4 separate regions of the Homo sapiens genome follow, and regions 1, 3 and 4 are each linked to region 2. The links are contacts of gene promoters, found by promoter capture Hi-C in blood cells and fetal thymus (Javierre and others, 2016). All regions are on one chromosome and are shown on one strand. The core of a region is centred on a gene start or on the middle of the fragment in contact, and the rest is flanking DNA. Distances in the headings are between cores, read along the strand shown.

Region 1 (2,968 bases), core at 398-2,897, 310 kb after region 2:
GTTGGTGCCCTGGTGATAAATGGTCCCCCAGGGACTCTGCTGCATCTTTAGGTAAGTCTGGCCCAGGGAAAGCCCAAACGGGACAAAGGCCAAGAGGTCCGGAGGCCCCACATTGGGGTCCTGTCCCCTCCTCCGCTGAGATCATCCTGGTTCAGGCCCTACCTTTCATAGACATAAACAGAGTTTCCTGCTACCTTGGTCCCCTGCCACGTGGGGCTCCAGAGCTTGCAGTAAATCTAGGGAGGCCAGGAGGGGCCCAAGAGGCCTCCAGCTGCCTCCCAACAACTGTAGGCAACACCTCCTAATTTAGTGGCAGCTGTGAACACCAGCCTGCAGGCACCCCCTCCTCTCTGCTGCTCTACTCTCTCAAGGGCTGGGGCTGGGTTTCCTGCTGCAATGAACATGCTGAAGCCCAAGCCCTGCTTAACTCACAGCTGAGGTGTCACCCACAGGACCAGGGGAGCTGAAGACCTCCCTCAAGGTCTGTTAAGAACAAGGGCCAAGCTTCTAGACCACCATCCAATTGCTTCAGGGGACCGGTCAAGGGGCTGCCCTGACTGAGCCTCCGGCTCGAGCTAAATCATGGTAGAAGTTCCTACAGCTGAATTTTGCCCATCTAATGAGGGAGTATTGTGGGGAGGTCTCTCCAGTTTTGGGGGTGGGCATGCAGTCCAGTGCTACATCCCGAAAGTTTAGCTGTCAACATGCAGGCAAAGCCAAAGGCCAGCTGTCTCCTCCCAAGCACTTGGGGTCCAAATCTCTGAACCCCTGAAGGAGAATCCACTGGAGGCTCTGCTTCCCTGTGGGTGGAGGAGGGGAAATGCAGAGGAAGGCACTAGAGTAAAGGGTTGCTATGGTGATGGAAGTTTTAAAACAAGGGGAGGGGGAGGGGAGATGTGTTGGTCAGGTCCCTTCTTCAAGAATTTCCTGAGACCTTAGCCTGGCTGCTTCTTCAAGGTTCTGTGACCCAGGTCCCCATCAAGAAAGGGGAGGTGGGGAGATGGAGAGAATTTAGAAAAAAGAGAATGGGGCAGAGACACAGACAAAGACAGAACCTGTGATGGAAGAGGAGCAAGGAGATGACAAAGTAAAAGGGACACAGGCACAAAGGGCAGGAAAGGGGAGGTGGACGGGAGTTCTGAAGGGGGCGGATGGGTGCCCAGCAGAGCCCTAAGGCCTCCATGGCGATGTGCTCTAAATCCCTGGGCCAGGAGCTATCCATGGTACTGGGACCTTCGAGACTGCACCCTCCTGTATCCCCCAAACATACACTGAACTTGGTGTAGGAGGCACAGCCAAAAGGAGGCCAGCTCCTTGGAGCATGTTGGTGGGGAAGAGGCCAGCTGCTGCAGCCCCCCAGTCAGGACAGTTCCCAGCCCGTCTCTCTGCCATCACGGCAGCTTAGGTAAAGCAGGTCCAACATGTTGAAGGCAGACGCATAGGGGTATGGAAATGAGGCTCGGATGCCTGGCTGCTTCCCTTTATAGTCCCTCTTCTCAGTTGGCCCAGCTGTACTTAGACCCTCCCAGCCAACCCCTCCCCCATCTGCTATCCTTTCCAGGCTTTGGGTCCCCAGAGCCCCTCTTACAGCTCTGCTTAATCCCCTCTCACCAACCCCCAACAGCAGATCCTGCCATGAGTGCCAGAAACGGCACCACAAGCAACCCAGAAACAGGATAACCACACAGCCCTTCACCTCCCCATGCCTCAGTTTCCCCTAATGGAAACCATGGAATCTGGCCTTCTCCCAGGGCAGAGGACTGCTTGCCTGCCTGTGAATGGTGGCCAGGGCATGGGGCTGGAGAGTAGGGCCATCAGAGATATGTGAACAGCCAGCCTAGGAGAGCACCTGAAGGGTCCACACCAAATATTAGAAAAGGGAGACCCTTGCCCCACCCTGGAAACCAACCTGACTCTGAGTGGAGACACCAGTTCCCCAGTTGAGGAAACTGAGGCTCAGAAGTCGCTGGAGCTGCCAGGAATCAACTCTGAGGGTGGGGGAGGGCACCAGGTCTCTAAAGGTAGTCCTGGGGGCTCAAAGCCTGGACTTGGGGGTAAGGGGAGTACAGCACAGGGACTGGACTACTGCAGACTCTGAGCTTTTAGTGTGGGACAGAGGGCCCTGATCCTTAGGAAGGAACCTGGTGGAGCAGGATCTGCCTGGGAGGTGCGGACAAAAGCAATTTGGCAGAGCTATGCGGGGAGGGGGCTGGGGCTCAAGAGCCCAGGGTCTCTGCCAAACAGTACAAGCTGGGGAAGGCAGAAGCTCATGCTGTCACTATCCCAGCCACCTCCAGCCAGGGGCCCTGCTCCCCACCGTGCTGCCACCCTGACCCCTTTCCCAAGTGCTGCTGGCTCGCCCCCGCTGGCACAGCAACACACATGCGGAAAGCACACGTGTGAGCACCAAGCCCCGCACCTCCCAGCAGGAACATGTGCGCCCCCACCCCCACCGTGCACGTGGGTCCATGCACTGGACCCCCAGCTGGCACCCAGGTGAAGGCTTGGAAGCTGAATTTTGGCTGGGGGGCTGCTGGTCCCCAGGGGCTTGGAGCTTCCTCCCCCACCCCGCGGCAGCCCCGCCCAGCCCCCTCCGGGTTGTCGCCCATAAAGAACTCTCCGTTGTCATGGAAATTAGTGACTGCTAAGCGGGAGGGAAGGGGCCCGGGGACAGTTGGGAGGGGCTGGAGGCGGCTCTGGGAACGGGGAGGGACGGCTCAGCTCTCGGCCCCTATCCTCACGGGGGACCACGAATCTTCGAGGGTTAATCTTTTCACAATTCCGAGCCGCAGAAGCTTCCCCCCAGAACCCCCAAGCCGTCCGAGGTAATGGGGAACTTTAGCCCGACCCCGCACTCCCTCCCCCAAATCTGCAAAGCCCGCGCGCTCTGACCCCGCCAGGACCTCGAGCCCTCGCTGCGCCCCCGCGCACTCTGCATCCCGCACCTCGAGCCAGGGAAACAATCCCC
Region 2 (3,255 bases), core at 556-3,055:
GAGGATCACCAGAGGTCAGGAGTTCAAGACCAACCTGGCCAACATGGTGAAATCCCATCTCTACTAAAAATACAAAAACTAGCCAGGTGTGGTGGTGGGCACCTGTAATCCCAGCTACTAGGGAGGCTGAGGCAGGAGAATCATTTGAATCCGGGAGGTGGAGGTTGCAGTGAGCCGAGATCACACCACTGTACTCCAGCCTGGGTGACAGAGCGAGAGTCTGTCTCCAAAAAATAAAAATAAAAAAAATAAAATGAATAAAAAATAAAATATCTACATCAGCCACTCTACCCTTACAATCCCCCATATTCGAGGAGCTACTAAGATTCTAACTTTGCAGAATAGGAAATGGAGGCTCAGTGAGCCTAAGTCAGTTGCCAAGGGTCCTATCGGGGCTGAGGTGCAGACTCTTTTGGAGCCTAAATGTGCACATGTAGTCACCACTCACGAAGCTGTATCAAACATCCTGCAGCACAGGAGGAAACACAGCAAGGACCATCATCTGCAGGAAGAGAGGCTCTCTTCATCCTAGGTCATCCCAGAGGGGCCAGGCAGTTTAGCGTGAAAACGGGAGGTATGAAGTCAGGAGAAAATATCAGGAAGTGGGGGCTCTGCATTTCCTCTTTCTCTTACTTGCTCCATCCCAGAGGTCGGGAGGAGCAGCTCGGAGTGCACAGGGGAAGGCCCAGGGAGGGTCCTGGCCCCTCCTCACAAGAACTGACACAGCCACCGGTCTGTCCAGCAGGCTGGCTATCAGCATTCACTGGGATCCCTGGATTATTCTAGGTTCAGTTAGAACTGCTAACACCCTATGTGATATATTTCGCAACATTAGGAGAATTGAATGGGTTTGTAAAATGGGTTCAAGTTACTCACGCCTTTCTACACAGTCATGATTTATGACGTCAGAGATGAACTGGAATATAGGCTCCTAGGAAATATTCTCCCACAGGAAAGTACAGGCTTGTGTGAGAAGCCACCACGGCAGACAATCCTGAGTAGCGGGCAGAAACCGGCTGTAAATGTGAGGGAGCGGGGAAGTAATTTGGAAAGCTCTCAGGGTAATGCAGAGGCAACCTGCGGCCCCGCATCGAGACAGCTCCAGGCCTGAGAACCATCAAGTCCTCTTTTCCATCCCCAAGGTCACTCTCCCAGGGCTGACTGAGGTGGCCTCCCAGCTGGCTTCACACAGCCCTGTCACACCTTCCATCTGTGCCCGGGGCGCTTCCTGAGACTCCCAGTTCCTCAGTGTGAATCCCAGATGGTTCCCATCGCCATCTGGATAAAGGCTCCACTCCCCAGCTGGCCTTAAAGACCCTCACAATCCGGCCCGACCACCCAGCACCCTCCCTCTCCTTCCCTCTACGACCTTGCGTCTCTGAATACACTTGTTCCTCTGCCTTCCCAACTCCTATGCATACTTTTGAGGCCATTCTCGGGTAGCCCCTCTCCTCTCCGAGGCCTGTCCTTATGACGCCTGCCCGCTGTGGCACTCCGGTTACCCGGAGGAGAGTTGCTACTCTCGAGTTCACCGAGGCGGAAAGCCCCTCTGACTCCAAAGCAGGGCTCAGCGCGACGTCCCAGAGGCCGCTTCTAGTGGCAGGTGCCCCTCCTCACAGGGCCCTCGCAGCCCCGCCGGCCCCCGCCCGGCTCCTTCTCAGCATGATACAACCGCGTCGGCCCTGGACAGCGCATGCGCGGGCGCCGGCGGCTGTTTCCCAGCGACCCCGAGGCTGGCGGGAGCGCGCACAGGGGAAGGGGGGCGTGTGCAGGGAAGGGGGCGCGAGACGCGCATGCGCAGCGGCAGGCGGCGGCGCGAGCCGAGCTGGGAGATGGCGGCGGCAGCGGCGGCGCCGAGAGTGTGAGCACCGCCCGGGAGCCGCCGGCCCGGGCGCAGCGCGACCCCGACCCCGCCCGCCCGCCTGCCCGCCATGGGCAACGAGGTCAGCCTGGAGGGCGGCGCTGGCGACGGGCCGCTGCCGCCCGGCGGCGCCGGCCCCGGCCCGGGCCCCGGCCCCGGCCCCGGCGCAGGAAAGCCGCCTTCAGCACCGGCCGGTGGCGGACAGCTCCCCGCGGCGGGAGCAGCGCGGTCGACCGCGGTACCACCGGTCCCTGGCCCCGGCCCCGGCCCCGGTCCCGGCCCTGGCCCGGGCAGGTAAGCGCGTGTCTCGGCGCCCGGGGGGCGGTGAGCTGCAGCCTGAGGCCGGGACCCGGGCCCAGGATCCCGCGATCTAGTGTGGACAGCGAGGTTCGACGTCCGGCCGCACTCTGAACCCTGCCGGATTGGCGTGAACTGGGTGGTCGCGGGAAGCGGCCCTTCCTTTCCAGCTGCCCCGCCTTGGCGTGGCAGGATGACGAGCGCAGGGTCAGTCGGGGCCTGCAGACCGTGACTCCGTCACGAACCCCAAATTCGCTTCTCCCCAACGCTCGGGCCTGACTGCTCAGGAGGGGCTTATGTAACCTTAACCTGGTCCCTCCGCACAGGAGAGCAATGGGATGGAAAACGTCCTCCCTGTCTGCTGGTGTCTGCATGTGTCCATTGTGCTGGGCCGAGAAAACAGCACAATGGGAGTGGCTGTCAGGGAAGATAAGTGTCACTGCGAGGAACAGAGAGATGAAAATAGTTGAACCATGAACTTGGTCTTGGGCTTTCCTTGGGCATTTAGTGGCTGTAATCACCTTTGGGGGAAAGGAAAATTGCCCACTGGACACCAAGAGGTGCTTATTTAGGCCCAACAATACTAATAGGATCATGTGCTTTCACCAAGGTTTAGGGAAACATTTTGGGGTGAAGCAAAAATGCTATTGAGTCATCCAGCACCAGATATGTTCTCGTTACCTTATGATTTAGATCAAACCAGTGGAAAAGCTGAAACCCACACAGAATGCTTTAAACAGAACATATCTGATTAAATACTGTGAAACCAGTTTGTTTTAAATGTATGCCAACCCAGGTCCTGCAAAAACAGTCAAGTGGCAATGAAGGCTGTAAGGGAATGCCAATATATAATAAGTCAGTAGACTGAAAACTCAGGAAAACTACTAAGAGATGACACGATAAAATGGAAGGCATTATCTTTGCACCAAATAGGCTTGGGGAGTAGCAAAACCCCCAGGGGGTGGGAGGGAGGTGCTTCCAGCTCCATGTGGGTCTGCTGATATATGTTGCCCTGGCTTTTCTGTGTGGAAGCACATAAACTGAGGACGCATAATTTTTTATTCTTTGGCTGCCCGACTGTGCCTCTTGTGTGTTTA
Region 3 (3,256 bases), core at 704-3,203, 350 kb after region 2:
TGCGTGGTGGTGGTGGTGGTGGCGGGGGTGGGGGAGGGGAGGGGGGAGTGCTATTTTTCTGCGTGTGTCCCTGAGGATATGGGTGGTGGACAAGTAGGAGGGAATGCCCATCATTCTACCCAGCATTCAGGAGCTATGCTAACAGAGACACGGTTATGTAACCCTATCCTCACATAGCCAGGGAAACTACCTAAAAAACCAGAGGCCATGATGGGCAGGTAGGGGAAAGAGCAAGATGAGGCAGCCACAAGGGCCAGCCTGGGAGCTAAGCCTCCAGTGTAGCCTTTGTCTGGCTGGTTTCTCACACCACCCCAGCACTTAGGAACTGGGTGAGAGAGAATGCTTCTTTCCGCCTGCCCCCCCACCGCGCCCCCAGATCCCCTCAGTGATGGAAGGGAAGCAGCCTGTGTTCAGCCATGTGCATGCAGCTCACAAGTAAGGGCCCCTTCTTTCAGCTTACCGGGTTGGGGCAAAAACTGGGCGACTGGAAGAAGTCGAGGCCTCGCCGGAGGCCTGGATGGACTGGGGATTCACAACAGCGCTCCACACCCTCATCAATTAGTGTGTCCAGCAGGTCAATGGGGAAGGCACAGACGACAGAGTTGGGGCCCACGCCAGGACCACCATCCTTGCCAGTCACAAAGACCCCAAATAGTACTTCCTGGCCCTCGGCGATGCTCAGCTCAGTGGCAAGTTGGGCACCCACTGGAGCGGAGTGGGCCACCCGCAGCACAGGGTAGGGCTGTCCGCCTTCTGGGGCCCCCCGGCGCCTGCGTTTTGGAGCAAATCTGCAGTCGAGGACCAGCTCCCGATAGTCACCCAACTCTGGCTCAGTGGCGCTAAGCCGTGCCAGGCGTGTGTGCAGGGCACTAGGATCATCTGTCACGCTGGCCGGCTGTACAGTCAGGAAGTATACGAAGGCTCCCGTGTGGAAGCTGTGCACGTATTCAATACTGTAGGAGACAAGATGCTTGGGCAGCACTGACAACGCCACAAAGCCCGGTGCGAATCCCGAGGCGTCAGCCTTGAGACGCCTGATAGACACTGAGCGTGGGCTGAAGCTGGCAGCCACGGCTGCGTCCAGTGAGGATGCCACGTAGAAATAGGAGGCCTGGCCTTGCTCAACCACAGTTACACGGGTGCCCAATGGGCTGGCCACACAGTCGGGGCAGTCATCGGGCCGGTTATGGTGGGCTGAGAAGAGGCAGGCTGGCGCTGCCAGATGCACGGCTGTCCCTTGGGGCTCTAGGTCATGCAGGAAGCAGCGGCCCTGCAGGCTGGAGCCACAACTGACCAGCGCAGGCAGCGCGGGATCCAGCACCAGCACCTTTGTGTCTGTGTCACCGGGAGGGCCGTGGGGTCCTGGGCCACAGGCTGCACACGTCTGGCAGCCAGGGTCTCCAGCAGGGCCCGTGGCCAGGCTCTGGACAGACTTCAGGTCAGGCCCAAGCACATGCAGGCGATTGCGTATGGCTACAAACACAGCACTCTCATTTCTGTCGCCCTCGTAGGTCACCATGGCCTGTACCAGGCCTCCGGCGGAGAAGCTGGGCACCACGTACTTCACGTCAAAGTCGCGAGAGGCCGCGTAGGGGGTGCGCGGGCACTGCCAGTCCTCGCCCGCCGCGGGCTTGGCAGGCAACAGCAGCAGCAACAGGAAGGACTGAGGCAGCGGCGGGAGGAGCTCCATCGAGGCGAGCTGGGACCCTAGAGGATCCCTACCGGCCTGGGCCTGGACCTGGGCGTGGGCCTGGCTGGGGGCCCGACTCGAGGTCTGGACTGGGCCAAATTTAAGCAGCGGTCCCGACAGCCCCAAGATAGCGGACCCCCGCCCCAGGTTCCTGTGAAACCCAAATCCCTTCCCGGCCCTCGGGTCTGAGCACCTGACGCCTGCGGACGCACGACAGCAACGCCCCAGCCGCCTCACCTGCCGCCCCAGCCGCCGCTGTACACTGGCGCTTAGCGCTCAGCCGACCCGAGGGCGCCGGGCTGGGCGGGCGGAGTCGGGCCGTGGGGGCGGGGCCGCGAGGAAGGCTTGGCCTAGCCCAGGCCCTCCGCCCATCCGACTCTTCCGGCCCTTGGAGGCCTGGCTCCTGTACCTTCACCTGGCGTCTTGGCGCCTTTTTCTCAGCGGCCTGTGGGTGGATGTGCATGGTGTGGCCTGGAGAGAGGTGAGCCAGTCTGAGCCGTCCCATCCCATCCCCCCACTACCGACTGGTTCGCAGCGAGAAGGGGGGCAGGACACTGGGCTCTTTGCTTGCGGTGGAACTAGTTTGCACTTAGTAGCAACACCCTCAGTGGCTGGTGCCCAGAGGTGGCCTGGGGGCCCACCATGTGGAGAACAGAGACCAGGATTGTGTGGAAGACCAGAGGGGAGATGTGGGGCACTTACAAGAGATGTTATGGGGCGCCACCCTTTGTGGGAAAGGACTGTCCTTTTTTTTTTTTGAGAAGGAGTCTTGCTCTGTGGCCCAAGCTGGATTGCAGTGGCGCGATCTCGGCTCACTGCAAACTCCGCCTCCCAGGTTCAAGCGATTCTCCAGCCTCAACCTCCTCCTGTCTCAACCTCCTGAATAGCTGGGATTACAGGCGCGCACCACCACACCCGGCTAATTTTGTATTTTTAGTAGAGACAGGATTCACAGTGTTGGCCAGGCTGGTCTCAAACTCCTGACCTCAGGTGATCCGCCCGCCTCAGCCTCCCAAACTGTTGGGATTACAGGCGTAAGCCACCGCGCCCGGCCGGGACCATTCTTCCATGTGCTTCTCCTGAGCTATCAGCGACAAGATGGTGTCAGAGGAAGGTGTGTTATGCCCTGCTCTCCCAGGGCCATAAGGGTCTTAGGATGGGATCTGGCCTTGCTGACTGGACCTCAGAGTCAGAGAGGCACGTAAGTGGAGGCCCATACCTCCTCTGCAGCCTCAGTATATGGAAGCTGTATAATGGGGTCCACAGTATGGGCCTTGGGGACTCCCCCTTCCTTCCTGGCTCTACCCAGTGCCCCCCTGATATGGAGGAATCATGGGCTTTGGCTCTCAGGACACTTCCAACATGCTCTGTAGGCCTTGCTGGATCTTATTCTCTTCAATGAGAATGTAGTTCTGGGCTGGGCACCGTGGCTCATGCCTGTAATCCTAGCACTCCTTTGAGGGGCCAAGGCAGGAGGATTGCTTGAGGTTAGGAGTTCAAGACCAGCCTGGGCAACATAACAAAACTCAACAAAACAAAAAAACTGCTAAAAATGTTTTTAAAATA
Region 4 (2,850 bases), core at 29-2,528, 380 kb after region 2:
TCAGCCCTTGTAGTGTGCCTCTCTCACTCAGGCAGCCTTGGAGCAGAGAAGGCCTTCAGAAGCCCCTCCCTACTGACTCCCTACCACTCCTGCTCCCTCTTCTTGCTTGGATAGCACTTCATTTCACCTTAACCCTTTGGAGCGGCCTGTCTGGAAAGGAGGTGCCAGGATACAGGATGTGTGGCAGACAAGGCCCAGGTGAGGCTGTGCTATGGCTGCTTCAGCAGGATGCCTACTCCATGCTGAGATCACAGTCTGGTCCTTGTCACTTCTGGCGGTTACTTCCCTCCCTGACAAAGGGTGCTCACTCTCCCTCTGCAAACTTGTGCCCAGAAAGGGTGGCTCACCCAGTACAAGGGACAACCCAGTTGCACCAGGCAAACTGGTGCAAAGTCCGGCCAGGCGCAGTGGCTCATGCCTGTAATCCCAGCACTTTGGGAAGCTGAGGCAGGCAGATCACCTGAGGTCAGGAGTTCAAGACGAGCCTGGCCAACATGGTGAAACCCCGTCTCTACTAAAAAAATACAAAAATACAAAAAATTAGCTGGGCGTGGTGGCGCATGCCTGTAATCCCAGCTACTCGGGAGGCTGAGGCAGGAGAATCGCTTGAACCTGGGAGGCGGAGGTTGCAGAGAGCTGAGATCACACCACTGCACTCCAGACTGGGCAACAAGAGTGAAACTCCGTCTAAAAACAACAAAGCAAAGACCCAAGCCCCTTCCAGGTGCTGCCCCGCTCATCCCAGTTACCTCTGTTGCTTTTTGAGAAGACTCTACCGGCCGAATATGTGTACGTTTGTTGGCGGGGCGGGGGTGGGGGAGTGGGGAGAGTCCTACCTGGCCACTGCCCCCTACCGGATCTCGCCCTCCCAGCCAAAGGATGGGTTCCAGATCTCGCCTTTTGTATTCCCCAGCTGGGGACTAGCCGGCTGAGGGACCGCAGGGAGACACAGTCTTCCCATTGCAAACGATAGCGTTGATGGCTGGAGGCCCCCGTCTTCAAGCCCCTCCCTCCAAAGATGACAGCTCTCCAGTCTCTAGGTGCCTCCAGGCCACGTGGGCTGGCAGTCAACTCACCTGTTTCTCAGAGGAGTCCAGGACGCACAGAAGGTGCCGGTCACTGCCCTCTGCCGGACCCATGGAGGGGTAAGGGTGTCCGGCCGGGGCCGGCCTGAGGGCACAGCTTCGCGGGGCCCCGGCCCCCTGCGTACACAGACATGGCCACAGCGCAGGCACCGCTCCCTCCCACCGCCCTCACCCGGCCGCCGGTGCAGGAAGATAGCTTTCGCCGGCCTCTCGCGGCCAAGGCCCAGCTCCAGCCGCTCAGCCCGACTCGGCCCGCCCCCGGGGTGCATTGTGGGAAATGTAGTCCTTAGCGTTTGGCCGCCTGCGGCGCCGAGGGACTGGTTCTGGGCTCCTAGTCCCAGCAGAGCCGTGGGCAGGTCCTGACCCGGGTCCGCGATTGCCTCATCCGGCGCCGCCTTCTAGGGGCCTGGGCGCCTCCTCCGAGTCTAGAGTCCCACACAGAACAGCCCTGGACTCTGGGCCTCTCCGTCCGAGCCAGCTAGCAGTTCATTTCAAGTGAGAGAAAGGGACGTTAGGATTGTTTCTCCCACTGATTGTGGAAGGACAGTGCAAGTTTGGGGGACTGGATAAATGTCATTAGTGGGCCCAGCCACACAGGCTGTAAAGGATGTGGGCATGCGCAAAAGTCGCACTAATTGTTTCTAAAAACATATTTGTAGCCACGTTTTAATGTATCAGTATAATGCTCTAGAACGGTAGTTCTCAACTCTGACGGCACATAGAATAAGCCGGGAAGCTTTAAAAAAAAAAAAAAAGAACTAGGACGGGCGAGGCGGCTCACGCCTGTAATCCCAACACTTGGGAGACCGAGGTGGGCGGATCACTTGAGGTCAGGAGTTCCAGACCAGCCTGGCCAACATGGTGAAACCCCATCTCTACTAAAAATACAAAAACTAGCCAGGCTTGATGGCGTGTGCCTGTAGTCCCAGATACTCGGGAGGCTGAAGTGGGATTCCAGGAGGTCGAGGTTGCTGTGAGCCATGATCATGCCCTGCACTCCAGCCTGAGCACCAGAGCGAGACCCTGTCTCAAAAACAACAACAAAAAAACTAATGCCTGGACACCAGCCCTAGAGATTTTGATTTAATTGAATTTAGAGTAGGGTGGAGTGTTGGGGAGCCAGGCATCACTATTGTTTTAAAAGCTCCCCAGGTGATTTACCATTGCAAAGAATCATTGTTTGTAATTTCCTAGACGCAAAGCAATAAAAACAACAGGAAAACAGTCAACAACAGGCTCTCCCAAAAGACCCTTATTTTTAGAGATGGTTTTAAAAAGTAAAATTAGTGTTTGGCACCACTGCTCATGTTCTTTTCTGAAGCAATTAATTCACTTTACAGCCTTATGGTTAATTCTCCCAAAAGTTAATAGGATGAAAAAAAAAGTCAGATCACTCCTCTGACTTTCCCTGCTGCTCCACAAGCACCTGGGGGCAGTGTCCTTTTCCTCTCTAAGCCCTACACTGGAGTTAGGGTAGAGCTCCGCCCCTGGGCTTTTCTTCCAGTCTCAGATGGCTGCCACTTGTAGCCTGCTTCCACAACACTGGCCTGTGACTGACATGGTGACAAAGCTGTGGCCTTTCACTGAAGATGGCTTTGCATAAGGCTATCAAGTTCTTGCACATAGTCTAAGGGAAGCTTTCTCACCCCCATGTCCCCCACTTTTAGGTAAGGACATAAGAAAATGCCCTATTCCTTAACTGAGAGTCTCTCCAGGTCTCCACAGATCACTCAGTATTTTATCTCCTCATTAGCTCAGAAGTCCA

Evidence for each region. The method cuts DNA at HindIII sites, captures the fragments that hold promoters and counts their contacts. A CHiCAGO score of 5 or more calls a contact.
Region 1: a contact is called between a fragment that was not itself captured here and the fragment with the promoter of BSN in region 2, in 1 of 17 cell types (M1 macrophages). The highest score is 6.3, in M1 macrophages.
Region 3: a contact is called between the fragment with the promoter of MST1R here and the fragment with the promoter of BSN in region 2, in 4 of 17 cell types (M0 macrophages, M1 macrophages, M2 macrophages and 1 more). The highest score is 6.3, in M0 macrophages.
Region 4: a contact is called between the fragment with the promoter of MON1A here and the fragment with the promoter of BSN in region 2, in 2 of 17 cell types (erythroblasts and endothelial precursors). The highest score is 6.0, in erythroblasts.

What each region holds. Positions count from the first base shown.
Region 1 is chr3:49,866,736-49,869,703 of GRCh38, forward strand. All of the region lies in intron 1 of CAMKV (CaM kinase like vesicle associated), which reads right to left. Among named protein-coding and RNA genes, the nearest start is that of CAMKV, 1.7 kb to the right of the region's middle. RefSeq lists enhancers at 991-1,923, 1,924-2,855. The HindIII fragment of the contact is 2,291 bases long and covers 503-2,793 here.
Region 2 is chr3:49,552,672-49,555,926 of GRCh38, forward strand. It overlaps BSN (bassoon presynaptic cytomatrix protein), which reads left to right and starts at 1,806. Exons shown (of 12, transcript NM_003458.4): 1 at 1,806-2,155. The coding sequence starts at 1,932. It overlaps BSN-DT (BSN divergent transcript), which reads right to left and starts at 1,695. Exons shown (of 3, transcript NR_038866.1): 1 at 1,370-1,695; 2 at 877-1,016. RefSeq lists silencers at 1,614-1,913, 1,984-2,193. The HindIII fragment of the contact is 4,717 bases long and covers 1-3,255 here.
Region 3 is chr3:49,901,920-49,905,175 of GRCh38, forward strand. MST1R (macrophage stimulating 1 receptor) reads right to left here and starts at 1,954. Exons shown (of 20, transcript NM_002447.4): 1 at 461-1,954. The coding sequence starts at 1,690. RefSeq lists enhancers at 305-978, 979-1,652, 2,289-2,338, 2,327-2,999 and a silencer at 1,879-2,098. The HindIII fragment of the contact is 26,972 bases long and covers 1-3,256 here.
Region 4 is chr3:49,928,533-49,931,382 of GRCh38, forward strand. It overlaps MON1A (MON1 vesicular trafficking associated A), which reads right to left and starts at 1,279. Exons shown (of 6, transcript NM_032355.4): 1 at 1,077-1,279. RefSeq lists a silencer at 986-1,335. The HindIII fragment of the contact is 4,855 bases long and covers 1-1,819 here.